3 separate regions of the Homo sapiens genome follow, and regions 2 and 3 are each linked to region 1. The links are contacts of gene promoters, found by promoter capture Hi-C in human tissues and cell types (Jung and others, 2019). All regions are on one chromosome and are shown on one strand. Each heading gives the region's core, a stretch centred on a gene start or on the middle of the fragment in contact. The rest is flanking DNA. Distances are from core to core; before and after follow the strand shown. Region 1 holds the start of PPIA (peptidylprolyl isomerase A). Region 2 holds the start of NACAD (NAC alpha domain containing). Region 3 has its middle 6.1 kb from the start of TBRG4.

Evidence for each region. The method cuts DNA at HindIII sites, captures the fragments that hold promoters and counts their contacts. A contact is called where the count stands out against the background at its distance.
Region 2: a contact is called between the fragment with the promoter of NACAD here and the fragment with the promoter of PPIA in region 1, in 2 of the 25 tissues and cell types used here (heart left ventricle and psoas muscle).
Region 3: a fragment that was not itself captured here is called in contact with the fragment with the promoter of PPIA in region 1 in 1 of the 25 tissues and cell types used here (dorsolateral prefrontal cortex).

Annotation. Positions count from the first base shown.
Region 1 is chr7:44,794,074-44,798,131 of GRCh38, reverse strand. It overlaps PPIA (peptidylprolyl isomerase A), which reads right to left and starts at 1,451. Exons shown (of 5, transcript NM_021130.5): 1 at 1,339-1,451. The coding sequence starts at 1,407. LOC105375259 (a long non-coding RNA gene) reads left to right here and starts at 1,602. Exons shown (of 2, transcript XR_007060300.1): 1 at 1,602-2,064; 2 at 2,708-3,016. RefSeq lists silencers at 981-1,330, 1,351-1,620, 1,711-1,910. The HindIII fragment of the contact is 11,905 bases long and covers 1-4,058 here.
Region 2 is chr7:45,087,338-45,091,002 of GRCh38, reverse strand. NACAD (NAC alpha domain containing) reads left to right here and starts at 2,034. Exons shown (of 8, transcript NM_001146334.2): 1 at 2,034-2,175. The coding sequence starts at 2,109. The HindIII fragment of the contact is 12,529 bases long and covers 1-3,665 here.
Region 3 is chr7:45,115,790-45,119,724 of GRCh38, reverse strand. No RefSeq gene overlaps it. Among named protein-coding and RNA genes, the nearest start is that of TBRG4, 6.1 kb to the right of the region's middle. RefSeq lists a silencer at 648-747. The HindIII fragment of the contact is 8,492 bases long and covers 1-3,935 here.

The sequences.
Region 1 (4,058 bases), core at 202-2,701:
TGGCAGTTACCCCTCCATTCTCATCAAGACCTGCAAGTCCTTTCTCATTTCCCTGAAGCTCTTTGGGTAACCTGATGCCCAACATTAGGTCAGGCCAAGTTTCCACGAAAGCCCTTGTCACTTACCAGCTTTGACTACACTCATAGGTGGGGTGGGGTGTGGATTAACATGCAGTGTTTCAGTGCCTATGTGCCAGGCACTATGGACAGGGTAGGCAACAAGGAAATCGCTCTGTCCTCACGAAGACTGCATGAGGATCAATCTATTTTCGGAATAAGATCCCAAACTAGCCATTGGTGGCCTTTTGAGATGTGATTTAAAGGAATAAAACCACTAACATCCTATTTCGCTACTCCCTAAGGTCTATCCATGTTAACTGGAACGGAATCGTACTCAATATTTAACTTTGAAGACACGCGCCAAGTTTAGATACTATGCTATAATTACAACTGATCTTTAAGAACTCATTTAACGCTCTCAAAACTAATTAGGTAATCACTGGTAATCCACCTTGGTCGGAAGAGGCCTGCCTTGTGGCCAGTCGCAACTTGCTTGCTAGGCAGAGGGACAATCGGGAGGGGCTCAAGAGCGCCTCCCCCGCCAGCGCCGTCACTGCAGTGGAAGGCGGTCCTTGGGCACCAGCAAAGGCAAGGCCCATTTTCACATTTCCGCTTGGGGGTGGGGGACACGGAGGGACGTTTGGGGCACATGTATAAATATTCCTACTTTATCCAAATGGAAGATATTTCAAGTGGCAACCCGTCACATCCCAGCAAGTCTCCTTTTATAACATGGCCTCCCGGGATCTACAGGACCGAGCATGGACGGGCTCACACCGCGCCTCGATCCTTGAGAAAAACCCTCAAGCAAACAGCTTCCCAGCTCAGGATGTAAAGCACCCATGCCTGCCAGGGGACAGCTTCCCAGGAAGGCGGTCGCAAGCCCCCGCGAGCGTGCTTCTGGCTCCGGTCTGCGGCGCCCAGGCCAAGCTAGGGCGGAGCCCAACGACTCTCAAGGCGCGGACCTGAGCGCGGCCGCCGAGCACGTGCGTCGGACAGGACAGGGCGCGGCCACATGAGGCGGGCGGGCGGACGCGGGCCCCCTCCCCCAACGGCCTCGCAGCCGCCCCGCCTGCCTTTGTCCGCCGCCGTCCCGGCCTCCTCCCCGCGACTCGCGGACCTCCCAAAATGGCCCCTCGTCAGGAAATGGCGCCGCAGCCCGCCCGCGCTCGCCCCTCAAGCAGGGTCGCCCCGCGCCCGGGCCTTTGGGGCGCTACCACCCACCCCGACCCCGGCCCACTTTCTGGGCCCCATTCCCGCACGCCGCCGCCCGCCCGACCTCAAAGGAGACGCGGCCCAAGGGCTCGCCGTCGACGGCAATGTCGAAGAACACGGTGGGGTTGACCATGGCTAATAGTACACGGTTTTCCTCGGCGGTGGCGTCTGCAAAACGGCACGAGCCTGGCCTCCCGCCCCTTTTATACCACGTTCGGCCCCGCCCGCAACCCGGTCTCGCGCCTCCGTCCCGGCCAATCGGGTCTGCGACTTCGCCAGAGTGACAGTGCATCTGGCCTATAGACGGAAGCCGGCGCTGATGGGGACGACACATGAGGCGCGCGTGCGCGCTAACGCGCGGAGGCAGGTTCCCGCCTGCGGGCTCCGTCGCGGTGGCTGCGGCATGGGACTCGGGGCGGGGCGGCAGTACGGGACGCGGGGCACGGGGGAGGGTCAGTGCGGAACGGGGGTGGGCAGCATGGCGCGCGCACGCGGGAGACGGAAGCGCGGCGGCTCTTCGGCCGTTGTCAAGCGATGAGGCGCGTCTCCCCATTGCACAGAGGGGGCAACTGAGGCGAACGCAGGCCTCAAGGTCGCGCCGCCAGTCAAGGTCGACTGGGGTCCCGCGCCCGGACCCTACGCCTCCGCGAGCGGAAATGGGGATGGCGCGTCCCCGAGACCTAGGAGCAGCCTTGCGTCCGCATTCCGCGCGGGCAAACACCACGTCGCGTCCTACCAGGCAATGTCAGGAAGGAGGTTGCCTTTGAGCATCGCTGTTTTCTCTAACGAGGTGGGACAGGAGCAGTCTCCGGTTTTGAGAGATTATGAAATGCTTTCAAAATGCTCTACTTTCCGAAAATATCTTACACTCTGCTTGAATCTTCTTCAGGAGGAAGCCATTAAAACAGGAGCCTGGCCAGGCTCTTACCTGTGAAGATGCATTATGCACATTTTGCCCTCTTACTCTTTTTGAATCTCTGCTCCTGGTCTTTCCCTGCCCCCGCCCCGCCCAGCTCCTACCGCCCCCGCCTCGGGGCTGAATTGTGCTTTGATTTTTGGGTGAAAGATAAGTCACAATTTAAAAGCGAATTTCTTCAGGCAAAGACATTAATAATACTTTAATTAAAATGCACTTGTAGGCCAGGCGCGGTGGCTCATACCTGGCGCTTTAGGAGGCGCGGAGGCCAAGGCCGGGGAGGATCGCTTCATCTTAGGAGTTCGACACCGGCCACCAGCCTGGGCATCTTAGAGAGACGCCGTCTCTACAAAAAAATAAATAAAAATAAAAATTAGCTGGGCGTCGAGGCGCTCGCTACTCAGGAGGCTGGGCGGGGAGGATTGCTTGAGCCCGGAGGTCGAGGCTGTAGTGGGCGGTGATCGCATCACTGCATTCCAGCCGGGACGACAGAGTGTGACCCTCTCTCAAAAAATAGGCCGGGTGCGGTGGATCACGCCTGTAATTCCAGCACTTTGGGAGGCCGAGGCGGGAGGATCACCTGAGGTCAGGAGTTCAAGACCAGCCTGGACAACATGGTGAAACCCCATCTCTACGAAAAATACAAAATTAGCTGGGCATGGTGGTGCGCACCTGTAGTCCCAGCTACCCCCTCGGGAGGCTGAGGCAGGAGAATCGCTGGAACCCAGGAGGTGGAGGTTGCAGCGAGCAGAGATGGCGCCACTGCACTCCAGCCTGAGAGACAGAGACTCCGTCTCAAATAAATAAACAAAAATATAAAATAAAATGCACTTATGTGACTGGTGTTTTGTTAAGAAAACCTTACAAGGGAATTCATATATCCTGGGCTGTCACTTAAGTTGCAATATTAAGGATATTATTTAATGTTTCTTTTTGTTTTTTTGAGACAAGGTCTCACTCTCACCTAGGCTGGAAGTGCAGTGGTGTGTTATCGGCTCACTGCAACCTCCCCTTCCCGTGCTCGAGCAAGCGTCCCACCTTAGCCTCCCAAGTAGCTGGGACTACAGGCATGCACCCACACCCAGCTCATTTTGTGTGTGTGTGTTTTGTAAAGATGGGGTTTCGCCACATCGCCCAGGCTGGTCTCAAACTCCTGGACTCAAGCGATCCACCCGCCTCAGCCTCCCAAAAGTGCTGGGATTATAGGCGTGAGCTGCTGCACCTGGACGTTGTTTAATGTTTCTAAAACTCAGTTTCTTCATCTGCACAACCAGGATAGGGTTGTGGTGAGACAAAAATGATAATTCATCTGATAGATGAAGTACAGTTTCTGGCCTCTTGCCATTGTTAATAACCATGAGCCAACGTGTTAGGAATTTATTTATTTGAGATAGGGTCTCACTCTGTTGGTTAGTCTGGAGTGCAGTGGTGCAATCCTAGCTCACTGTAACCTCGAACTCTTGGACTGAAGCATTCCTCCCTCCTCAACCTCCCAAATGTCTGGGACTAAAGGCACAAGCCACTGTGCCAGCTAATTTAAATTTTTTTAACAGAAACTGGTTCTGGCTGTGTTATCAGGGCTGGTCTCAAACTCCAGGGCTTAAAGGATTCTCCCACCTTGGCCTCCCAAAGTTCTAGCATTACAGGTGAACCGCCATGCTCAGCCTGTGTTGGAAATTTAGACTATGTTGTTTTGTTCTCATCACCATCCCATTATCCCCATTTTACAGATGCGTAAAGTAAAGCTCTGGCTTCTTGTTCAGAGTAATCGCTTATGAGTGTTAGCAAAGCCAAACTGGAAACTGCTTTTTTCCCCCCCACTCCACATCACTTCTTGCTTTGTGATCTTAAGAAAGCCACTTGTCCTC
Region 2 (3,665 bases), core at 785-3,284, 290 kb before region 1:
TTCTGGAAGTCAATCTGCCTTTTATTTCTTCTTGCTTTATTGCAAGGTTTAGAAATTCCAATAATATGTTGAAAAGAGTGGTGAGTGCGGACACCCTTGCCTTGTTCCCAATCTTAAAAAGCATTCAGTCTTTCACCATTAAGTATGATGTTAGCTGTATAAGTTTTTTATATAAGATCTTTATCAAGTTTATTTTTAACTTGCTGAAAGTGTTTTTTTTTAAATCATGAATGATGTTGGTTATGTCAAACACATTTTCTGTGTCAACTGATACCAAAATTTTTCTTCTTTAGCCTGTTGGTGTTCTGGAGTATTGTTGATTGATTTTCAACTGTCAAACCAGCCTTGCATACGTGGAATAAATTCCACTTGGTCATGGTGTATTTTTTTTATACATCATTATATTTGATTTGCCAATATTGAGAATTTTTGTGCCTGAATTCATGAGAGATGCTGGTCTGCAGTTTTCGTTTTGGGGGTCTTGGGGTGTATTGACACTTTGTTAGTTTTTTTTTTTTTTTTTTTTTTTTTGAGACGGAGTCTCGCTCTGTCGCCCAGGCTGGAGTGCAGTGGTGCGATCTCGGCTCACTGCAACCTCCGCTTCCCGGGTTAACGCCATTCTCCTGCCTCAGCCTCCTGAGTAGCTGGGACTACAGGAGCCCGCTACCACTCCCGGCTCATTTTCTGTATTTTTAGTAGAGACGGGGTTTCACCACGTTAGCCAGAATGGCCTCGATCTCCTGACCTCGTGATCCGCCAGCCTCGGCCTCCCAAAGTGCTGGGATTACAGGCGTGAGCCTCCGCGCCTGGCGACACATTGTTAGTTTTGACATCAGGATATTTCTTGCCTTATAAAATGAGTTAGGAAGTGTCCCCTTCTCTTTTGTTTTCTGGAAGAGATTGTTTGAAGTTGATGTTAATTCTAATGGTGTGGTGTGTCTGACTCCTGGGGTACAGCGGGGAGAGATGCCCAGCAGGCAGCCAGGTGTGTAGCACTGAGCCTTGAGGCAGGTCTGGGGGAGTCAGAGGGCAGCCCCTGGCTTCATGAGCTCAAAGTTAGAACCCACAGAAGACTGAGGATGTTGAAACCTCCCTCCCTGCCTGTGACAATGGCTACTCTGATTCCCCCCACCCCAGTCAGGGGTGATGACAATGTCTCATTCATCTGTCTCCCTGGTGCCTGGCACGGGGGAGGAGGGGTGCTCAGTGAATCTGGGTGGCGCAGTAGCCTGTGTGAAAGCAAGAGGCATTTCAGGAAATTCACGGGGCGGGCTTCCTCCTGGGAGGTGTGGCAGAGGGTGCTGCCAGGAATAGAGGGAAACACTTTCTTCCTTTTCCTTCTACTGCCTAGTGTGGGGGTGGAGGGGAGATGATAGGACAGATCACCGAGTTGCCTAGAGACCTGGAGACCGACCCATCCGGGTCGCCTTCCCTGGTGCGCTCTCGTCGGCTCCATCCCTGGTTGCCATGGAGACAGGAGGCGGTTGCCACGGAGACCGACGACTGCCAGGACCAGCCAATCACTCCAGAGCTGCAGCTCCAGCTCACCTTTTGCATGGAGGCATCGGGCTGGGCGGGGCCCCCTCCCTCCCCAGGCCCTGCACCCTCTGCTTGGTCAGCGGGGAAGGAGGCTGCGCCGCCAACTCCACCCAAAGCGCTCCGAGCATCCCAGAATCCCAACCACCTCCCCAGCCTCCCACAACCAGGGTTCTAGGGGCGTCCCCGCCTCTTCCTGGCCACGGGCGAATGCCACCCTGAGGCAACCCAGCTTCCAATTGGCCCTGAAACCCTCCCTCGTAAATGCTGTGGAAAGGGTGGGACCGGGCGCAGGCGCCCACCCCCGCTCCCCCACGAAACCGCCCACAGCGAGAGGGAGGCCACAGCCGGGTGGGGTGGGGGCGGGGAGGGAGCCCCCCCTACGCCCTCCGCAGTGCCTGGCGAGCCCGCGCACGCTCACTCGCTGGGACAGGCGGGCGGGGCGGCCTGACGTCACCCACTGCCCCCACCGCCCGGCCGAGGGGCGGTGGCCGCGCAGGCTCGGCGGGGCGGCGGCACGGACTGACGGAGGGTCGGAAGGACTGAGGGACGGGCGGGCGCACGGCCAGGCCATGCCTGGGGAGGCTGCCCGCGCCGAGCTGCTGCTGCCCGAGGCGGACCGACCCGGGCCCCGCACAGGTGAGGCCGTGGCCACTCTTTCCCTGCCTTCAGCCTCTCCCCTCTCCAGCCCGGGTTCTCTTTCCATCGCTCACCTTTCACCCCTCTCCCCCATCCCCCTGGCCCCCCTCGAGTCCCCTCCCCTTTCCGCGCCCTGTCCTTCCCTCCATCTGAACCCTGCTACCGCCTCTCTCAGAACTGCGGGGAAGGTGGGGCGCACGAAGTGCCCGCCGCGAGCCAGAAAGAACGTGGGGGCTTAAGCCCTTGGCTTCCGACCCAGGGATCGTGGGGCTCGCATCCCGCCCGCTGCATCCCGTTGTTTGCACCGAGCTGCCAGCCTGCTGGGGCTGGGCCGCTCTGGACAGAGGCAGCGGGTTCTGGAGGCGGGGTGTCCGGCTGATACCCCCAGTACGATCAGGTGACCACCGGGAGGGTCCTCAGTTGCACCCGGTCTGTCCTGGGCCGGCGACTGGTCATGGCTCTGGAGGGAGGAGCAGGACTGGCCAGAGCCTAGGAAGCCCGGATGGAGGGCCAGGTGGTGGAATAAAGCCTAAGTTGGGTCTGGAAGGTGGAAGGCCTTGGGGGAGGTGGCCTGATTAGCAATGGCCCTGGGTGTGCAGACCACCTGTCCTTAGGCTGGGTCAACAAATGCTGGTGGAGGCTGATGGGGTCTACGGGGCCTAGAAAGAGCCGAGCCTGGACAGTCCTGGCGTGGAGGTCAGCCATGTGTGGGTAGGGCCAAGGGCACCTTGCTGTGGGCAAGAAGTCACCCAGAGATGGGACCACTGCTGGGGCCTGGGGCCTGGTTTGGGGTGACACAGGCTGCTGCCTCTGCTCTAGGTGGGAGGCAGGGAGTGCAGGCCCAGACTTCCCAGCCCCAGGGTCTTGTGCTGGCTCTGTTCTGGCTTGCTTGGTGACCTTGAATGAGTTATAAAAACCTTTGGCCTTTGGTTTCTGCTCCATCCCAACAGCTCAGCCGTTCCCCTGCCCTGGGGGCCACACCAGGGGCCAGAACCAAGAGCCCAGCTTCAGGGCACCCAGTGATGCCCCACCAGCCACGCCCACTCCTGATGTTGGGTGTCAGGCATGCAAGAACCCAAAGGACCCCCTTGTCTCAGGACCCCCTGGATGTCCCATCACCCCAGCAGCAAAGCCCTTGGGTGACAAGTTTTGGCTGGTGGTTCAGGGCTCAGGGCTCTGATGCTGCTGAGGGGAGCTGGAGCAGCCTGGCAACAGGGTCCCCCTTCTTTCAGCTTCAACTCTAATCCTGGCTCTGCTTTGTAGATGAGAAAGCTGAGGTGCAAGAGATGTTGTCCTGGTCACCAGTGAGTGCGGGAGAGCAGGAGCCACCAGGCAGGCATCTGCAGCCTGGAGAGCTGGCCCCTGTGTGCCGCCGCTCCCCCACCTTGGGCAAGACCTGGCCTGGGCTCTGAAGGGCCTTCATTGGATGCTTCAAACAGAGGTGCCTTTGGCCTAGGTCCAAGTGAGGGAGTGGACATAATGGAGACATT
Region 3 (3,935 bases), core at 1,070-3,569, 320 kb before region 1:
GATAGTCACCGTACCATGCTCTTAGCTTTTCAAAAAATTTGCACATTCTCTAAATAAAAAGAGGGGAACCAGAAAGGGCCTGTGGGCTGGCCCTCCAGGCCAGGGAGTGTTTGGGGACCAGGATTGGTGGGAGAGGGGCAGGCCCTGAATTTGGTAAAGCACAAGGTGGGAGTGTAGCACAGAAGAGAACCTCTCATCAGAGGAATGACTTGGGTGGGCTGAGGGGGCGCCACAAGGAGGCCAGATCTATGTGAAAGGAGGACCAGCAGGTAACATGGTCACCTTGTGGCACCTGGCCCAGCAGCCTGAGACACAGGTATGGGAAAGGTGGGTCAACAGGTCCCGTGGAGGCCCTGTCAATGATGCACTGTGTTGGTGGGAAGCCAGCAGCCTGCTCTCCCAGGCCAGGACCCCTGCATACTGCTGCACCAGGCCTGCCCCTCCCCATCTCAAGGAGAAGCTACCAGGAGGTCCTGCAGGCTGGAGGCCAGCGGACATACCCTTTCCCCATCCCCGTCTGTCCCTGCCCACCAAGGCCCAGCACTCAGCCTCCCATGCTGGTCAGGTGCTGGGGAGAGGCAGGGCTGAAATGGAGCCGTACCACCTCCATGCACTGCTGCTCATGCTGGGACCCTGAGGCCAGCCTGGGCAGCTGGAACCACCCAACCTTGTCTAGCCTGCAGCTCAGAGTTAGGCTGCAGGAGACACATCCATCCCCTGATGCTGGAGGCTCCTCCCCTACAGAGAAGTTTCACCCTGCCCTGGCCCCTGTATTGACTATGTTTCCAGCTTCTGCAAACAATGCTTTAACATCTGCCTTGTATGTATATGCTGGACAGACTTGGTTCTGCACCCTGATGATGGGCCTGAATCACCTTGCCTTGGCCTTCTGCCTCCCTCATCAGCTCCTCACCTCTCAGGAAGAGTCCTCCTCCTGGGCAGGGTACACTTTTCAAACACAAACCAACCAATCCAATGCTCACACCCTCAAACACCTCCTCTATGGGGCTCTCACACTCTGGCCACTATGGACTTGCTCTAATCACTCCAGGGCCAGGTATCAGACAATGAGGGACAGCCCTTCTGCTCCAGGCCCTGAAGTTACTCAAACCACCCAATCCTAAACTGTCGCCCTGCCTTACCTGTTCTTTCCCACAGAAACCACAGTAAAGGCTCTTGCCCACCACTCCCTGCCCCATTCCTCTGCCTCAGGGCCAACCCCAGTGTTTTCCCATGTGGCCCCTGTGGTGTGGCATGTGCCCTTCTCTCCAGAACTGAGAGTAATAAACTAGCTTCTCAATGGCAATCATCTCCTGATCCATCAGTCTTCATGAACCTCAAATTTTTTATTAATACATGATATTTTAAAATAGTCCCAGCCGGGCACAGTGGTTCACGCCTGTAATCCCAACACTTTGGGAGGCCGCCAAGGCGGGTGGATCACCTGAGGTCAGGAGTTCAAGACCAGCCTGGCCAACATGGCGAAACCTTGTCTCCACTAAAAATACAAAAAATGAGCCGGACATGGTGGCACACACCTGTAATACCAGCTACTTGGGAGGCTGAGGCAGGAGAATCGCTTGAACCTGGGAGGCGGAGGTTGCAGTGGGCCAAGATCGCACCACTGCATTCCAGCCTGGACAACAGAGTGAGACTGTCTCAAAAAAAAAAAAAAAAAACCCTTTCATATTTTTCCATATAAAACACTGCTTTAAGTTTTAATGTTTTTTCCCCCAAGACAGCCCAGCCTGTACCCTACTTGGGTAGATTTTACAAGCTGGTAAAACAGCCCCCTTTAGAGGCTGAGCATCCATGCCAGAGAGATCCATGGGGCCACTCCACCATCTCCCACTGCATTCTCATGGCAGCTGCCACCGGAGCTCCCAGGACTCTGATAAGGTGGACCACCTTGGCCCCTTCCCAGCTCCATCACCCGTACCCCCAGAGGCCTTCTCACCTGCACATCTGTTAGCACAGGTACTCAATGTCAGTGGCCTCCAGAGCAGGAGCCCAGGTTGACTGAAAGCCAGGAACGGCTATGAGCTGGGCCCTACTGGTGCAGGACAGGGCTGGGTCCACTGGGCTGTGGCTGTCACGACCCACTCTGCACACTGTACCACACCTCTCACCACACTGCATGAGGAGGGTGCTGTGGCCTTCTTGGTGGATGAGAAGGAAGGATGGATGAGATGTTCTGTGGATTTCTGGAAGGGTTGGCAGAGGTCAGGACTGTTGGCCCTGCTGAGGGTTTCCTGCTGGGGGTGCAAAAGACCCACCACTCTGAGTCCAGCTGGGACAGAGCCCCGGGCAGGCACAGAAGCAGGGGGAGGCCTGGGGCTGGTGGCAGAAGACCTGGACACTCACTCTCCATGTGTCCTTAGGCAAGTCCTGCCCTCCCTGGGCCTCAGTTTGCCACATAGATAGCAGGGTAGAACAGGCTGTGTATGGCCAGAGCAGGGAGCCAGGCTGACCTTAGACTAGCCTTTGGGTCTGATTCCTCCTCTTATGCAGGAATCTGAAGAGACATCGATTCCATCAGGCCCTGAAGAAGGGCCCTTCTCTGAGAAAGTCCCTCAACAGGTTTGTCAGGGGTCCCCAAGACCACCCCAAGGTTCTGTGACTCTCCAGAGGAACTCACAGGACTCAGTACACAGTCATACCCTTGGCTAAGACTTAAAGAAAAGGATACAGAGCAAAATCTGCAAAGGGGAAAGGTACATGAGGTGAAGTTGGAAGAAACCAGGCATGAGCTTCCAAGAGTTCTCTTCCAGCAGAAACAAGAGGGAGTCACTACTGGATTCCCTCAACAATTAGTTGTGATGACACGTGTACAATGCTGTCTACCAGGGAAGCTCATAGAGACTTGGTGCTCAGGGTTTTTATCAGGAGCTGGTGTCTGCCTAGCATACACCAAAATTCCAAACTCCCAGAAGAAAGGCAGGTGCTTAGCATGAGCCATGTTGTTGTACAAACAGTTTAGGTGCAGGGAAGACCCCTGCCCTTTATAGGAAGTTATTATCAGTATAAGAAACTGTTTGCCAGCCAAGTTTCCAGATGCCAGTCAGAAGGCAGCCTCAGGTGCTGTATCAGCTTCTGCACTCCAGAGCTCATATCAACTGTGGTTTGATTCCAACTGGAGGGAAGGTGAATAGACAGGAGCAGACAGAAACAGGGTGGTCAAGCATCCCAGTTTGCCTGGGACTTGAGGCGAGGAAGGGTAGGGGAGCTTCCCAAGACATGAGACTTTCTATGCTAAAACCAGCATGGCAAGTGGAGAAGTTTCAACATGTGTTTTGGAGGGGTCAAGTATTCAAACCACAACAGACGCTAACTACTTAGAGTTAGCACAGACCTCACAGGTTAAGGGCTCAGTCCCACAACACTGCCCTCACTTCAGGTGCCAGTCACAAGTAGTGGGTCCCAGACTATCCACACTTCTGTTTGACTTGGCTACAAAGCAAGGTTTCCCATGACCTGCTCTTCAGGTTTAGTAATTTGCTATAAGAGCTCACAGAAGTCAGAGAAACATTTTATCTACTGCCTTATTCCATCTGGGCTGCTGGAACAAAATACCATAGACTGAGTAATTTATAAACCCTAGAAATGTATTGCTCACAGTTCTGGAGATTGGGAAGTCCAAGATCAAGACACCAGCAGCTTCAGTGTCTGGTAAGGGCTCTCTCCCTCATAGAAGGTAACTTCTTACTGTGTCCTCACATGGCAGAAGGAGAAAGGGACAAACATGCTCCCTCGGGCCTCTTTTATAAGGGCACTAATTCCATTCACGAGGGCTCCATCCTCTTGACCTAATTACCTCCCAAAGGCCCCACCTCTTAATATCAACACTTTGCAGATTAGACTTGAACATACACATTTCGGAGGGACACAATCAGATCATAACATCTATGTTTACTAGTTTATTACAAAGCATATTT